5 separate regions of the Homo sapiens genome follow, and regions 1, 3, 4 and 5 are each linked to region 2. The links are contacts of gene promoters, found by promoter capture Hi-C in blood cells and fetal thymus (Javierre and others, 2016). All regions are on one chromosome and are shown on one strand. The core of a region is centred on a gene start or on the middle of the fragment in contact, and the rest is flanking DNA. Distances in the headings are between cores, read along the strand shown.

Region 1 (2,700 bases), core at 136-2,635, 230 kb after region 2:
TAAAATTGCAAATGAGGTGAGAATAATCATTTGCACTTAGTTTTGCTCTAAAACAATCATGATAATAATATTTTATATTAATTTAACATTTTTCCATCCATGGCTCGAAGCATTTGTACAAATCATTTTGCAGTCATCTTTAGTTAGCTAATATCTGCCTTATGAGTGAGAACTCACACTCATGTCTTAGAACAGGTAGGGATGGGTCCTTCCTAAAATGTTTGACAATCAAAGTAAGTCTTCATTGTCTCCTTTGGTTGGGTGGAGAGTTTACACCTTGGAATCGGTAACAGTCAAATAAAACAGTAACTTTCTCATGTATAAAATGAATTTATTAAATTTCCAAAAGTCAGAAATGAAGAAATTCTTCTGGGTTGATAATGCACTGCTTTGCTACTATAGTGGCGTGGGTGGTGGTCATCTTGTTTCTCTTTTGTTTTTTTCTAATGTTTTTAGGATTTAATGTGGGATCACATGGCATAGGAAACAGCAGCAATGGCTAGTGATAGGCTCTTTACCCACTGATAATAGCTTCTTTGGAGTTGATAAGCTTTTACTTTTTCTTTGGTACTAAGTTTATTTTAAGACTGACTGTCTCTCCTATTTTTAATTTTTTGATTACATCTCCAGTAGAGTGAAGACTTTACTTTGTGTTTGGTTTGTGTTTCTCTAGCTGAGATCAGGAGGTGCTCAAGTATTAGAAGGTTGCATTGCTGAAATACACAACATCACCAGCTTAGACATCTCTGACAATGGTAAGTCAGATATTGAAAAGAAATGAAACTGAAATATTTTTTGAAGCAAGTTAATAAGGGGAAAATAATCTTCTACCCAAATCCAAACAATAGCTTAATAAAAAAATTGTTTTTTATTTTTTGACTAATAGGGCTTTTAAATTTAACAATGGGGTATATTTGTAGAATAGATCTGTGCCAGAGTCTTACTAAGTTGACTCTGTGGCCAACTATGCAAAGTCTATGCAGTAAAACAACTCAGTTATAAAAATATCACCAGTACATTGAAAAGGGTCTGAGACCAACTTTTTGCATTCTTGCTGATAATAAAATTGTACTCTTGTTTATTTATTCAAAAGCTTATTTCATTAGCTTCATTTCTGCTGATTGTAGTATCATGTTAGTATGAACCTGTGAAATTTGCATAGACAACTTTAACTCCACTTACCTCACAGTGAACAGTTTGTTGGAATCTTCTCTCACAGAGTGGTGGGGAGAGATGAAACTTTCTGCCATTATTCATTCCCATTTCCTGCTGACTTGGTTTAGCCACTGATTGTATAAGAGATTTAGATAAGTCTTTGTAGAGAATGAGTTTATCCCTGTGAAATAATAGGACATGAAAAGAGAGCAAAGAGTGCCTTTGAAAATAAAAGATTAGAATCCCAGGCCCCTCAGGAAGGTAAAGGAAGTCATCCAACTATATGTCACCTTTGCTTAATTGTGTTCCAGCTGAAAATTAATTTATACACATGTGTTTTGATGTTCTACTTACTCTGATTCTTTCCAGGTTTAGAATCTGACCTATCTACCTTAATAGTGTGGCTCAGTAAAAACAGATCAATACAACACCTGGCGTTAGGCAAAAATTTTAATAATATGAAATCCAAGTAAGAGTTTTGAATTTTTTTATATGACAATGATGAAAATAACCAGCCTCCTGAAAGCTTTTGATTTGATTCCACTGTCCACATCTCTAAAATCTCTTTAGAAATCTGACACCTGTATTGGACAACTTAGTACAGATGATTCAAGATGAAGAATCAGTGAGTATTATGTTAAACTTTTTACTAAAATCTTCTGTTTGTTGCCATTCTTACTGATTATTTCTACTGGATTAATGCTGAAATACTTTCAGATAGTTTTATCAACGTGTACATTTTCCATTACTTTTTAAAAATGGAATAAATACACTTTAGTAGAGTTGTAGAATGTATTTAAAAACTTTTTTTACTTTATTCAACTCACTGTCAATTAAAGGAAGATTGTCACTAATAGATAAAAAGAAGTATAAATTGACTCCTGAGCCTATCTTTTAATTAGCCTTACTACTCCCTAACTTTAGCTAATAAACTAATCTTCAGGCATGAATTTTTACATTCTAGTTGACTTTATGACCTTATATAATGCTGAGAAATATCATATTGCTAATTTGAATTTCATCTAATAATTATGTGGAATTATAGGGGACCAAGGAAGTTTTCTTCCATCTTTAATTGCTTCTTGAAGTCTAGTAGCACTCTGTATTTTTAATCCCCTTTCGTTGCTCCTGACCAAAATTTAGTTCAGGGTAAAGAAGTTTAATTTCAAATAGTATCTTATTTTGCTGTCCTTGAAAATGGATTAGGAGAAAGAAAAGTTATTTTATGGACAAAATAAGAAGCAGTCTACCATGAATCCATTTGATTTAGAGCTGGTGTGTTACACCTTATATTTTACTGATGCTCTCTAAGATTTTGTCCGTTTCCTCTCAAAGTCCTATTTGGTCACCAGACTCAGCTTTTCCAGTTCCTAAAACTCAGATGAATTTGTATTCCTACTATGAAGAGTCACATTACTCATGTTTTGTAATAGCTACTTTTGTAGGTCATGAGGATGATTTTTATATTAATCATGTGGAGTATGTCACATTTGGAAAAAGTATCATTTTCCCTCCTGAATTCATACCAGGGAAGAGCAAATTCTA
Region 2 (2,700 bases), core at 77-2,576:
ATACACAAGCAATGAAACACGACACCATATGGTTGGGTTTAGAAAAGTGTTTCAGGCAATACATATTGTAGAGGCTTAGGGATCACAGTAATCTGAAAATCCCTGGAAAATATTCACAAAGAAGGTAGACCATTGGGATGGGTTTGAAAACATAGATAAGAATCAGATAACCTTAAGAGGAAGGAGGAAGCAAACAGTGAGTCTGGTTGTAATAGAGAAGGGAGTGGGAGAGGTTAAGGAGGGTGGGAAGGGGCCAGGTTGGCAAATCCTTAGTGGTAAGGCCTGGCTGTGGGGCTGAAGATGATTCTAAGGGGTCCAAGGTCAACAGCAGTGTTTAAAATTAGATTGCCAAGTGCATGGATTCCCTTTCCTTTCCTCCTTTTCTGTCCTTTAAAAGCAGAACCTGATTAGACAGTCTGGGACATTCCCAGCCCTAGGCTAAAAAGCAGCGATTGAGGCACAAAGTATTCTTGGCCCTGAAGTTGAACCTCTGGGGATGGAGCTCAGGGAAGTCATAGGGAGTTTGGGCCCAGGTAGGATCAGACCTATCCGCAGGCTTACATAGGCTCCAGTGATTAAAGCTCAGCTTCCTGAATATGCCCCGAGGATAAAAGAGACTTTTCCGAGTGAAAGGCATTTTCCAAGGCGCTCTCAACGGGAATGTCTGAGATAGCGAACTGCGGCTGCAGAGCACCAGCTGAACGCACACACACAAGTGTCTTCTCACGGTATGATTAGTGTTCACAGGTTTCGTCTAGCTCATCAGAAATGAAGAATAGCGATGATGAAGTGACATGTCACCGGGAGGGTTGAAAAAGAAAAAGTGCGTAAGAGGGTCCCAAAAAGAACCAGCTTCCGTGTAGACGGGTCTGCAGAATCTGCCGTCTCCCGTCTTCTGGGTCCCCTGGCCCGCCCGGAGTGGGGACAAGGAAATGGAAAGCCCGGCTCACCCGGCTCTCCTCCCTCGCAGCCAGCAGATGGCTCCCGGGCTCTCTCGCGAGCCCGCTCGCCCCCTCTCCAGACGCAGGGCTTTTGCGGTTTGGGAGGGAGGCTGCGAGGAGGGGCGCGGTGCCCGCCGCCGCCACCGCAGCACCGCACAGCGTCTCTCCTGGGGGTGCGACCTACGCCGGGGACCCAGCGCTCGGGCACCGGAGGCCGGCCTCGCACCGGTGCGGAGGCCGGCTCTCGCGAGGTGAGGAGGAAACGCAGGAGGAAGAGGAGAAGGAGAAGGAGGAGAAGGAGGAGGGCCGGAGCTGCCCCCGCCCAGCCGGAGCCCGGCAGGAGCGCGAGGAAAACCTACTCCCCCCGCCCCGCGCCGCTCTCCCCGCCCTCTCCCACGCCTTCCGCTTTCACCTAGGGCTGTAGGTGCGGCGCGGAGGCTGGGCGGGAGCTACGCCGGCCCAAGCCCCGCCGGGGACCAGCGAGCCGGGAGGAGGAGCAGGCGCCACAGCCGCCCCGCGCCCCGCGCCCGCTTGTAATCCGGTCCGCTCCTTATTCAGCCGCCGGGAACTGCGAGGAGGCGTCATGTAGCAGCAGCAGCAAATCCGCCTCGCATTTGCAACTCTTTTTTTTTTTTTTGGTGGGGCGGGGGGCGCGCGGCAAAATTCTGTCTCCGCCCCCCCTTTTCTTGCCCACTTCCATTTGCAAGCTGCATCTGCCTCTCTAAAAAAATTGAGGAGTTCGGGGAAGGGCAGGGGGCCATAAATCAGAGTTGGACCTGCAATAACCCCCACACCTACAGGGCAACCATGACCGAGGAGAGCTCTGACGTTCCCAGGGAGTTGATAGGTAAGATTCACGCGGTTGTTGGTTTTCCACCTTCCTCTGCGTACTCCTCACCTCTCTCTCCCTTCCCACCTCTGCTTTCCCGCAGGTCTCGAGAAGTCTTGGCGCCCCTTAGGGCAGAGTGGTGTTGGGCAGGGTCACTGGGGGTGCCGGGAAGTTTGTTCCCATCCGACCGCCTGTAGAGCCAAGTGCAGAGAGGGAAGGCTTCGGGGAGGAATCGGGAGTCCTCGGGAGGTGGGTGGGAGGAGGGTCTCGACTGTGAGCCCTGGGCACCTCCTCTTGCCCGGAAGCGGGGATCCAGGTTGGCGAAAGAAGGGGGCGGGCCATCTTAGACTTGGGAGTTCTGCAAGCGAGGGGAGCCCTTTACAGCTCCCAGCCCACTGCCCCAAACTCGGGAAAGTCCGGGAAAGCCTATTGGAAGGACAGGTGGCGAGCGCACAGTAGGTCGTCTCCGGCACGTGTCAGGCGCTTTCCTGAAAATGCCCCGCGGGAGGTGATCTTCTGACACGCAGACTTGGGGGAGTGGGCGCTAGTCTGGTAAAATGACTGGGCTTGGCAAGGTGTGGCTTGGTGTAGCCAGCTGGGAGCGAAAGGGTTACAGGGCTGACGCAGACTCAGGCCAGGAAATAGAGGGTTAATGATAAAAGCCTTATTTTAATAATGATTAACCTACCGATTCTCCCTATAGGGGATCTCTTAGGGAACCCGTGTGTGTTACGCTGTGCAAGGTGACCCATTGTTTGAGTACCTTGAGGTTTTTTTTTTTTTGGTGGTGGTGGGGGCGGGGCTGGTTAAGTCTTGGGGTTTAACTTAATTATCTGGAGGGTTAAAATGGCAGAGCTGAAATAGGATGGGAGAGTGTTCTGAAAACCTAGCGTTTAAGCATGTATATGTGTGTAGCATGTTATACTGTAA
Region 3 (2,751 bases), core at 229-2,728, 170 kb after region 2:
CCTATTTCTCCACATCCTCTCCAGCATCTGTTGTTCCCTGACTTTTTAATGATTGCCATTCTAACTGGCGTGAGATGGTATCTCATTGTGGTTTTGCCTTGCATTTCTCTGATGACCAGCATGTTCACAGTATCTTTATCAGAAGTAGATTCCATCTCAAGAAACTTCTTTCTTTGCTCATCCATAAGAAGCAACTTCTCATTTGTTAAAAGTTTTTTCGTGGATTACAACAATTCATTCACATTTTCAGGCTCCACTTTTAATTCTAATTCTATTGCTGTTTTCACCATATCTGCAGTTACTTCCTCCACTAAACTCTTATACCCTTCAAGGTCATCCATGAGGTTTGGAATCAACTTTTTTGGAACTCCTGTTGATGTTGATATTTTGACCTCTTCCCGTGAGTCATGAATGTTCTCAATGGCATCTATGATGGTGATTTTTTTCTGAAGGTTTTCAATTTACTTTGCCCAGATGCATCAGAGGAATCACTATCTATGGCTGCTTATATTGCCTTACAAAATATATTTCTTTTTTTTTTTTTTTTGAGTTGTTGTCTTGCTCAGTTACCCAGGCTGGAGTGCAGTGGCGTGATCTCGGCTCACTGCAAGCTCCGCCTCCCAGGTTCATGCCATTCTCCTGTCTCAGCCTTCCGAGTAACTGGGACTACAGGTGCCCGCCACCAGGTCCGGCTAATTTTTTTTTTGTATTTTTAGTAGAGATGGGGTTTCACCATGTTAGCCGGGATGGTCTCGATCTCCTGACCTCGTGATCCACACGCCTCGGCTGGGATTACAGACACAAAATATATTTCTTAATAAGACTTGAAAGTCAAACCTATTCCTGGATCCATGGGCTGCAGAATGGATATTGAATTAGTAGGCATGAAAACAACATGGATTTTTTTGTACTTCTCCATCAGAACTCTTGTGTGGCCAGGTGCATTGTTAATGAGCAGTAACATTTTGACAGGAATCTCTTTTTCTGAGCAGTAGGTCTCAACAGTGGGCTTAAAATATTCAGTAAACCATTCTGTAAATAGATCTGCTATCACCCAGGCTTTCTTGTTCTATTGTGGAGTGCAAGCAGGGAGATTTAGCATCATTCTTAAGGGCCTTGGGTTTTTGGAATGGAACATCAGCACTGATTGGCCTCAACTTAGAGTCACCAGCTGCATTAGCCACTAACAAGAGAGGCAGCCTGTCCTTTGAAGCTTTGAAGCCTGCCATTGACTTCTCCCTAGCTAAGAAAGTGCTAGATGACATCTTCTTCCAGTAGGAGGCTCTTTCATCTACATTGAAAATCAGTTGTTTAGTGTAGCCATCTTCATCAATGATCTTAACTATATCTTCTGGATAACTTGCTTCAGCTTCTTCATCAGCACTTGCTCCTTCATCTTGTACTTTTACGTTATGGAGACAACTTTCCTTAAACCTCATGAACCAACGTTTGGTAGCTTCCAACTTCAGCTTCCTCCCCTCTCTCAGCCTTGATAGAATTGAAGAGAGTTAAAGCCTTGTTCTGGATTAGGCTTTGGCATAGGGAATGTTTCATTCCAGACCACTAAAACTTTCTGCATCTCAGGGATAAAGTTGTTTCACTTTCTCATCATTCACATGTTCATGGAAGTAGCGCTTTTAACTTCCTTCAATAACTTTTCCTTTGCATTTGCAATTTTGCTAATTTTTTTGTTGCAAAAGGCCTAATTTTTAGCCTGTCTTGGCTTTCCATGTGCCTTTCTCACTAAGCTTGTTTCTAGCTTTTGATTTAAAATGAGAGATGTGCGACTATTCCTTTTACTTGAACACTTAGAGGCCATTGCAGGGTTATTAATTGGCCTAATTTCAATATTGTTGTGTCTCAAGTAATGGGCTTGGTGAAAGGGAGAGACAGAGAGGAATGGTTGTCAGTGGAGCAGTGAGATCACACACACTTTTAAGTAGCTAAGTTTGCTGTCTTATATGGGTGTGATTCATGGTCCCCCAAAATAGTTACAATAGTAACATCAAAGATCACTGATCACGTCACCAAAACAGATATTATAATAATGAGGAAGTTTGAGATATTGTGAGAATTACCAGAATGTGGCACAGAGACAGGAAGTGAGCACATGCTGTTGGAAAAATGGCACTGATAGATTTGCTTAATGCAAGGTTGCCACAAAGCTTCAATTGGCAAAAAATGCAATACCTGTGAGTATAATACAATAAAATGAGGTATGTCGGAACCTGATTATGTCTTAGTCATAAAACTTACAAAGAAGTAGGAGGAATATTTTCCATGCCAACAGAATGTATTTAAATGATTTGATATGTATTTGAGGTTTTCTCTAGGAGTAGAACAACCCAACCAGGCAACCTCCCAGGCCCTAGCATATTTTATCTGGAATACATCCATTCAATCAGAAAATGTAAATAACTGGGAACATTTTCTTCCAGTCTCTGCAAGGTGATGGAAATTCATAAGAATGACTGAGAGCATTGTATGTAGCAGAGTGCCTTGAAATCATTAAAGATGAAACTATATTCAATACAAGTTAATATATTTATTTCACCACCTCTCACCCACGTCCTGTCATGGTACTGGGTGACTGACACCCTGACACCCTTCCTCACAGCTCATGACCTCTTCACCTCTACCCTACTTCCACTTGCTTTTGTGGCCACATGACCTTGTCATCTCCTGGAACAGCTTATTCCATGGTGAAAAAACAGCCCTCCCCCTCTGACTACAGCCTTTCACTTCCTCTCC
Region 4 (2,798 bases), core at 68-2,567, 200 kb after region 2:
TCTAAGCATTGCAAATTCTGTGTTCTGTTTTTCCTAGTTATCTGTCCCAATTACCTTAGTTTTTATGATTTCAGCCTTTTCAGAAATGTCTGTCCTCACTTCTTCTCATCACTTTTTTTTTTTTTTTTTTTTTGAGACAAGGTCTCACTCTGTTGCCCAGGCTGGAGTATGGTGGTGTAATAATGGCTCACTGCAACCTCCATTTCCTGGGCTCAAGCCATCCTCCCCACTCAGTCTCCCAAGTAGCTGGGATTGCAGGTGTGCACTACCACACCTGGCTAATTTTTAAATTTTTTTTTGTAGTGATGTGGTCTCACTCTGTTGCCCAGGCTTCTCCACTCACTCTATTCAAAATTCGATTATTTCATTTAGACACCATTTAGAATCCTAGCTCTAGTGTTTTTTGTTGACCTGAAGTACGCTCATATTTTTTCCCAGCTATTTGGTGGTGGCTCTGATTTGATCTTCTAAATAAGACAAGAGACTTATAGATTCTAGGATTGCTGCTTACTTTTCTTGGTGTTTTAGGTCTTTCATGTCTCAGTGTATATCAGTGAGTCCCAGAGTCGAAACACATGGGTTTAATTCCTGGCTTCACAGCTTTCTAGCTAAGTGTTCTTGGACAAGTTACCTACCTTCTCTGTACCTCAGCTTCCTTATATTAAAAATACAATGATAGTACCTACCAAATAAGAATGTTCTAAGGATTAAATGAAATAATTGATATTTTTATGGTTAAACAGGTAAAGCAATATTTTAAAAATGGCATAGATTGGCTGGGCACGGTGGCTCACGCCTATAATCCTAGCACTTTGGGAGGCCGAGGCGGGCAGATCACAAGGTCAGGAGATCAAGACCATCCTGGCTAACACAGTGAAACCCCGTCTTTACTAAAAATACAAAAAATTAGCCGAGCGTGGTGGCACGTGCCTGTAGTCTCAGCTACTCGGGAGGCTGAGGCAGGAGATTCCCTTGAACCTGGGAGGAGGAGGTTGCAGTGAGCCGAGATCGCGCCTCTGCACTCCAGCCTGGGTGACAGAGTGGGACTCCATCTTGGGGAAAAAAAAAAAGGGCATAGATTTAGATTTAGGGCGTTTAAAAGTTGGAAGTATTGACTCAATTTTTTCCAGTATGCCTATATTCTTATACTCTTGGTTCTAAGTCTTTTCCTCTCAGCCTTATTTTTGAAATGGAAATACTTCATTGTATTTTGCTTTTTCACTTACTTTCCTTAGTGTTTCTGAACTCTCCAGGAAAGTTATAGAATTGGTAGAAATGTAAAAATTTTTACTCACCTGTGCTCTGACATCCACAATGTTCCAATGTGTATGCTTTCTAACAGAGAAGAGGCCTTTTGTTTCTCCCAGAAACCACTACCAAGATCAAGAGACAGAATGTTCCCACCGTTCTCCAGACTTACCTTGTGGTTTGCCCCAGTGATTACCAGCCCTGTCCTCTACCACTTGGAAAAGATAACTACTATTCTGACTTCTCTCATGATGGATGAGCTTTGCCTGTTCTTTGCCTATGTACTCCTTTGTGTGTGGCTTCTTTTGCTTCTCTTTGTGGAGAGATTTTTTAATAATAGATTTGTTTCCTTGAATAGATAGAGAACTATTGAGATTATTTACTTCTTCTTAAATTAGTTTTGGTCTGTCATGTTTTTCATAAGGGATTTGTTCCTTTCTATTAAAATGATAGTTTTTTGACTTACAGATGTGTTTATACCCTCGAGTTATAATTCAACGCCTGTAAGATCTTTACATTCTCTTTTCATTTGATTTTGATAATTTGATCTCTGTTTCTCATTTATTTATTTTACCAGTCTTGTTGGAGTTTATTAATTTTGTTAGTATTTTTAAAGAACCAACTTTGTTAAATTTACTTATTTTTATGGCTGCTATCTATTTAACTGGATTCTTCCCTTTTTCTTATTTTTTTTCCTTCCTTCTGTTTACAGAGGTGGGTGAGGATTAATTTGCTGTTTTTTGAGCTGGATAATTAGATAATTATTTTCCAGTTTTTTATCTTTCTTAAAATATGTATTTAGGTCTATTGATTTCTCTCTAGGCATGGCTCTAGTTAGATCCCAAAGATTTTAATACCATAGTTTTTAGATTTAACTCAAAATATTTTTAAAATTCCCACTGTGATTTTTGACTCTTTTGTTATTTAGAAATATATTGCTTAAGTTATAATTATTTGGGGATTTTCTAATTATCTTATTGTTATAATTCCTATTTTAACTGCAGTAGTGGTAACAGAGAACATACAAATATTCTGTGTATGAATTCACAGTACTAAGGAACATTCTGTTATTTGTTGAGACTTTCTTTATGGCTCAGTATATGATTCCTTTTGGAAAATATTTAGTGTGGACTTTGAAGAAATGTATTCTGTAGTTACTGGGTACAGCATTTTAAATATATCAGTTATATCTTTTTTCATTATGATCTTGATATTTTCTATATCTTTACTGACTTTTTCTGTTCATTTATTAGCTACTAATAGAAGTGTGTTAGAAAACTTCCATTATTATATATGCGTGTGTGTTTATGTAATATGTGTATTTTCCTTTTGTTACTGTCAGATTTACTTTATATATTTTCAGATGATGTTAATCAGAGCATAGATTTAGAGTAATTGTATCTTCTTAATTAATGAAATATTCCATTTATCTTTAGTAATGTTTCTTAAAATTTAAATTGTCTTATTGCAGCTACATCAGATTTCTTTTAGTTAGTGTTTGTAGCATATCTTTTTTCGCTTTTACGTTCACTTCTGAATACATGTATCTC
Region 5 (2,833 bases), core at 202-2,701, 180 kb after region 2:
TGTATTAATATTACCTCTTCTAATCTAGCCTTGACAGTCCTGTAGTTTGAAGGACATCTGTGTTGTTTTTAGTTTCTGGTAATTATGAACATAGCTCTTAAAAATAAATAATTATCTACATTTTTATGTGAACATAAATTTTGATTTTTCTTGGGGAATTTCCTAGAAATGGGATTGCTGGATCAGATGTCAAGTATCTGTTAAACCTAATAAGATGCTGTCAAACTGTTTTCCCCATTGAGTGTATCATTTTGCATCCTCATTGGCTCCATTTGAGAGTTCCAGTTGCTCTGGGTCCTTATTAGCAATTGGTATTGTCAGGTTTTTTTAAATTTATTTTTTCTCTTTTTTAAACCGTGCATCTCTTTTTGGTTTTTCCCTAATGCATTTTTCTAATGCTACTAATTGTGAGCATCCTTTCATGTGCTTATTTGCTATACATATATCTTATTTAGTGAAGTGTCTGTTTAGATCTTTTGCTCATTTAAAAAAATGGGGTGATTGTTTTTTATTTTTGATAGTTCTTTATGCATTTTGGATACAATTCCTTTTTCAGAAATGGGATTTGTAAATATTTTCTGTCAGCATGTGGCTTATCTTTTTCTTCTCTTGACATCTTTTGTAGAGCAAAAGTTTTTAATTTTGAATAAAGTCCAGTTTATCGATTTTTTTATTTTTGTATTTTGCTTTTCGAAGATCTAAAAACTCTTAGACTAAGCCATACCTTACTCTGTTGCCTGTTTCTTCTGCTTATAATATGTGTCTCATCCCACTCCCTCATCTCTGAGGGCTCAGTAACATCCTCTTTCTCAACTTGGTTGTCTTGATTAGCACCCCTTTTATATGCACACATAGTATTTTGTATTCCCCCTACCTCACTAGGGCTTGTTTCACTGTGTTATAGCTGCTTTTCCTTCCTGAGTCTCCTGCTAGGCTGTGCCAGGCCATCAGGGCAGGGACCATTTTCTATGTTCATTTTTGCATCAGGCCCAGTGATTCATGCATGATGGCGGCATTTGTTGAACATAAGAATGAATGGAATTGCTGGATATGCTCAGGTTCCCCATGCTGTTGTACGTGCTATTCCTAATTTCTTAAAATACTCTTTCTCCCTGGCTGGTTGGTTTCCTTCTGATCTTTTAAGCCGGTGAGCCATTCCCCATTTACTTCAGGCCGAATTACTTGCTGTCCTGCTGTGCTCTTAGGGCTTTTTGTTTGTTTGTTTTTTAACATTTTCCCTATTCAGCAAGTCTCTCGTCTTTCGTTGTATTACAGATAGTTGAGAAGGGGTTTTTCTTTACCAGTGAAGTGCGATAGAGGAATAAGAGCTACACTTCTTTTTCATCTCTTAGCTCTCAGAGCCTAATAACCCTGCCTAGTACTAAGGACTAAATAAATATCTGCTGAATATGATATGTCATTGTCTCCTTCTAATTGTTTTTTTAACATAAGAAGCCTAGGCATTAACACAATTTAGAGAAACATGGTAGGCAAACCATGCCAATATGCTTAGTCTCCATCCTCCTCATGAATAACTTTTTCTAGAGCAAAAGTTTGTTTATATCATCCATGGAAGATTTAATCTTGTAAAACAGATTATGAATATGAATCATAGAACAATTTAAAAACATAATAATTTTGTTAGAAGACATTAATATCACCTTGAATGCTAACAAGGTATCCTTATGACATTTGGCTATATTTCTTTCTTTTTTTAAGAAAAGTCTATATTTGTTAGCATTTATATCTTTTTTTATATGTAGATTTTATTAATCCCAATTATATATTATATCACACAGATGTTCACTTTAGAATGCTGTATACCTTAAAAATTTAATATTGAACCATAAGCATTTTTGGTGTTGAGTATTGTGGTATGTAGAGATGATGCTGTTTTACTCACTGCATTCATGATTCCGTAGAGTGATGTGCCTTCAGTTCCTGAAAATGACTTCATCTATGACAAAAGCCAGTTATACTTCAAATCAGATCATGGGACAGAACAGAATACACAAAAAGTGGTTCTGAAGTGTGGTCACTCCTTGACATTAAATCCACAAAAAAGATGAGACTGCTTTGCCATCATTCTGAATGTTGAAATATACAAGAGAACGCTCAGCGTGGGCTTTGGGGACTCTGTAATAAGATGGAATTCACCCTTAGAGAAGCTACAACCTGTAATTAGGCAATAGGAAGAGATACAGGAACTTGTTCTGAGCACAGAGCATGTGGTCAATGGAGGGGGACGAAGAGAGGGAAGACCATAAAATAACTATTGAAAGAGTTGTTCTCCTTTTTTTTTTTTTTTTTTTTTGAGACGGAGTCTCGCTCTGTCGCCCAGGCTGGAGTGCAGTGGCCTGATCTCGGCTCACTGCAAGCTCTGCCTCCCGGGTTCACGCCATTCTCCTGCCTCAGCCTCCCGAGTAGCTGGGACTACAGGCGCCCGCCACTACGCCCGGCTAATTTTTTGTATTTTTAGTAGAGACGGGGTTTCACCGTTTTAGCCAGGATGGTCTCGATCTCCTGACCTCGTGATCCGCCCGTCTCGGCCTCCCAAAATGCTGGGATTACAGGCGTGAGCCACTGCGCCCGGCCAGTTGTTCTCCTTTTTAATCTAAAACTTAAAAAAAATTTTAAACTTAGGCAAAGTTAGTAAAGAGGCTTGTCAGTAGAAAACCTGGCATGTGGAAACACATGACTGAGCCTGCCTATTTCTCTGGATTTTTTTTTTCTACTATCTGTGGGCACTCATCTCATCTTTTTAAAGCATGTCTATTGAAACTGCACACATGTGGTGCTTCAGAGCCAGGGTTCTGACTGTAGTTCTGTCCCT

What was found. The method cuts DNA at HindIII sites, captures the fragments that hold promoters and counts their contacts. A CHiCAGO score of 5 or more calls a contact.
Region 1: a contact is called between a fragment that was not itself captured here and the fragment with the promoter of CARMIL1 in region 2, in 16 of 17 cell types (M2 macrophages, megakaryocytes, M0 macrophages and 13 more). The highest score is 12.3, in M2 macrophages.
Region 3: a contact is called between a fragment that was not itself captured here and the fragment with the promoter of CARMIL1 in region 2, in 7 of 17 cell types (M2 macrophages, total CD8 T cells, M0 macrophages and 4 more). The highest score is 8.6, in M2 macrophages.
Region 4: a fragment that was not itself captured here is called in contact with the fragment with the promoter of CARMIL1 in region 2 in 15 of 17 cell types (naive CD4 T cells, megakaryocytes, total CD8 T cells and 12 more); the score reaches 15.8 in naive CD4 T cells.
Region 5: a fragment that was not itself captured here is called in contact with the fragment with the promoter of CARMIL1 in region 2 in 10 of 17 cell types (naive CD4 T cells, non-activated CD4 T cells, naive CD8 T cells and 7 more); the score reaches 8.4 in naive CD4 T cells.

The regions. Positions count from the first base shown.
Region 1 is chr6:25,508,983-25,511,682 of GRCh38, forward strand. CARMIL1 (capping protein regulator and myosin 1 linker 1) reads left to right here. Exons shown (of 37, transcript NM_017640.6): 18 at 674-755; 19 at 1,525-1,624; 20 at 1,726-1,780. Among named protein-coding and RNA genes, the nearest start is that of SCGN, 140 kb to the right of the region's middle. The HindIII fragment of the contact is 588 bases long and covers 1,092-1,679 here.
Region 2 is chr6:25,278,048-25,280,747 of GRCh38, forward strand. It overlaps CARMIL1 (capping protein regulator and myosin 1 linker 1), which reads left to right and starts at 1,327. Exons shown (of 37, transcript NM_017640.6): 1 at 1,327-1,788. The coding sequence starts at 1,749. RefSeq lists a silencer at 1,055-1,524. The HindIII fragment of the contact is 9,381 bases long and covers 1-2,700 here.
Region 3 is chr6:25,445,006-25,447,756 of GRCh38, forward strand. All of the region lies in intron 5 of CARMIL1 (capping protein regulator and myosin 1 linker 1), which reads left to right. It also overlaps a transcript of LOC124901281 not described here. Among named protein-coding and RNA genes, the nearest start is that of CARMIL1, 170 kb to the left of the region's middle. The HindIII fragment of the contact is 535 bases long and covers 1,212-1,746 here.
Region 4 is chr6:25,477,741-25,480,538 of GRCh38, forward strand. The region is part of intron 11 of CARMIL1 (capping protein regulator and myosin 1 linker 1); the gene reads left to right. Among named protein-coding and RNA genes, the nearest start is that of SCGN, 170 kb to the right of the region's middle. The HindIII fragment of the contact is 4,769 bases long and covers 1-2,798 here.
Region 5 is chr6:25,461,527-25,464,359 of GRCh38, forward strand. All of the region lies in intron 8 of CARMIL1 (capping protein regulator and myosin 1 linker 1), which reads left to right. Among named protein-coding and RNA genes, the nearest start is that of CARMIL1, 180 kb to the left of the region's middle. RefSeq lists an enhancer at 918-1,454 and a silencer at 1,922-2,122. The HindIII fragment of the contact is 8,941 bases long and covers 1-2,833 here.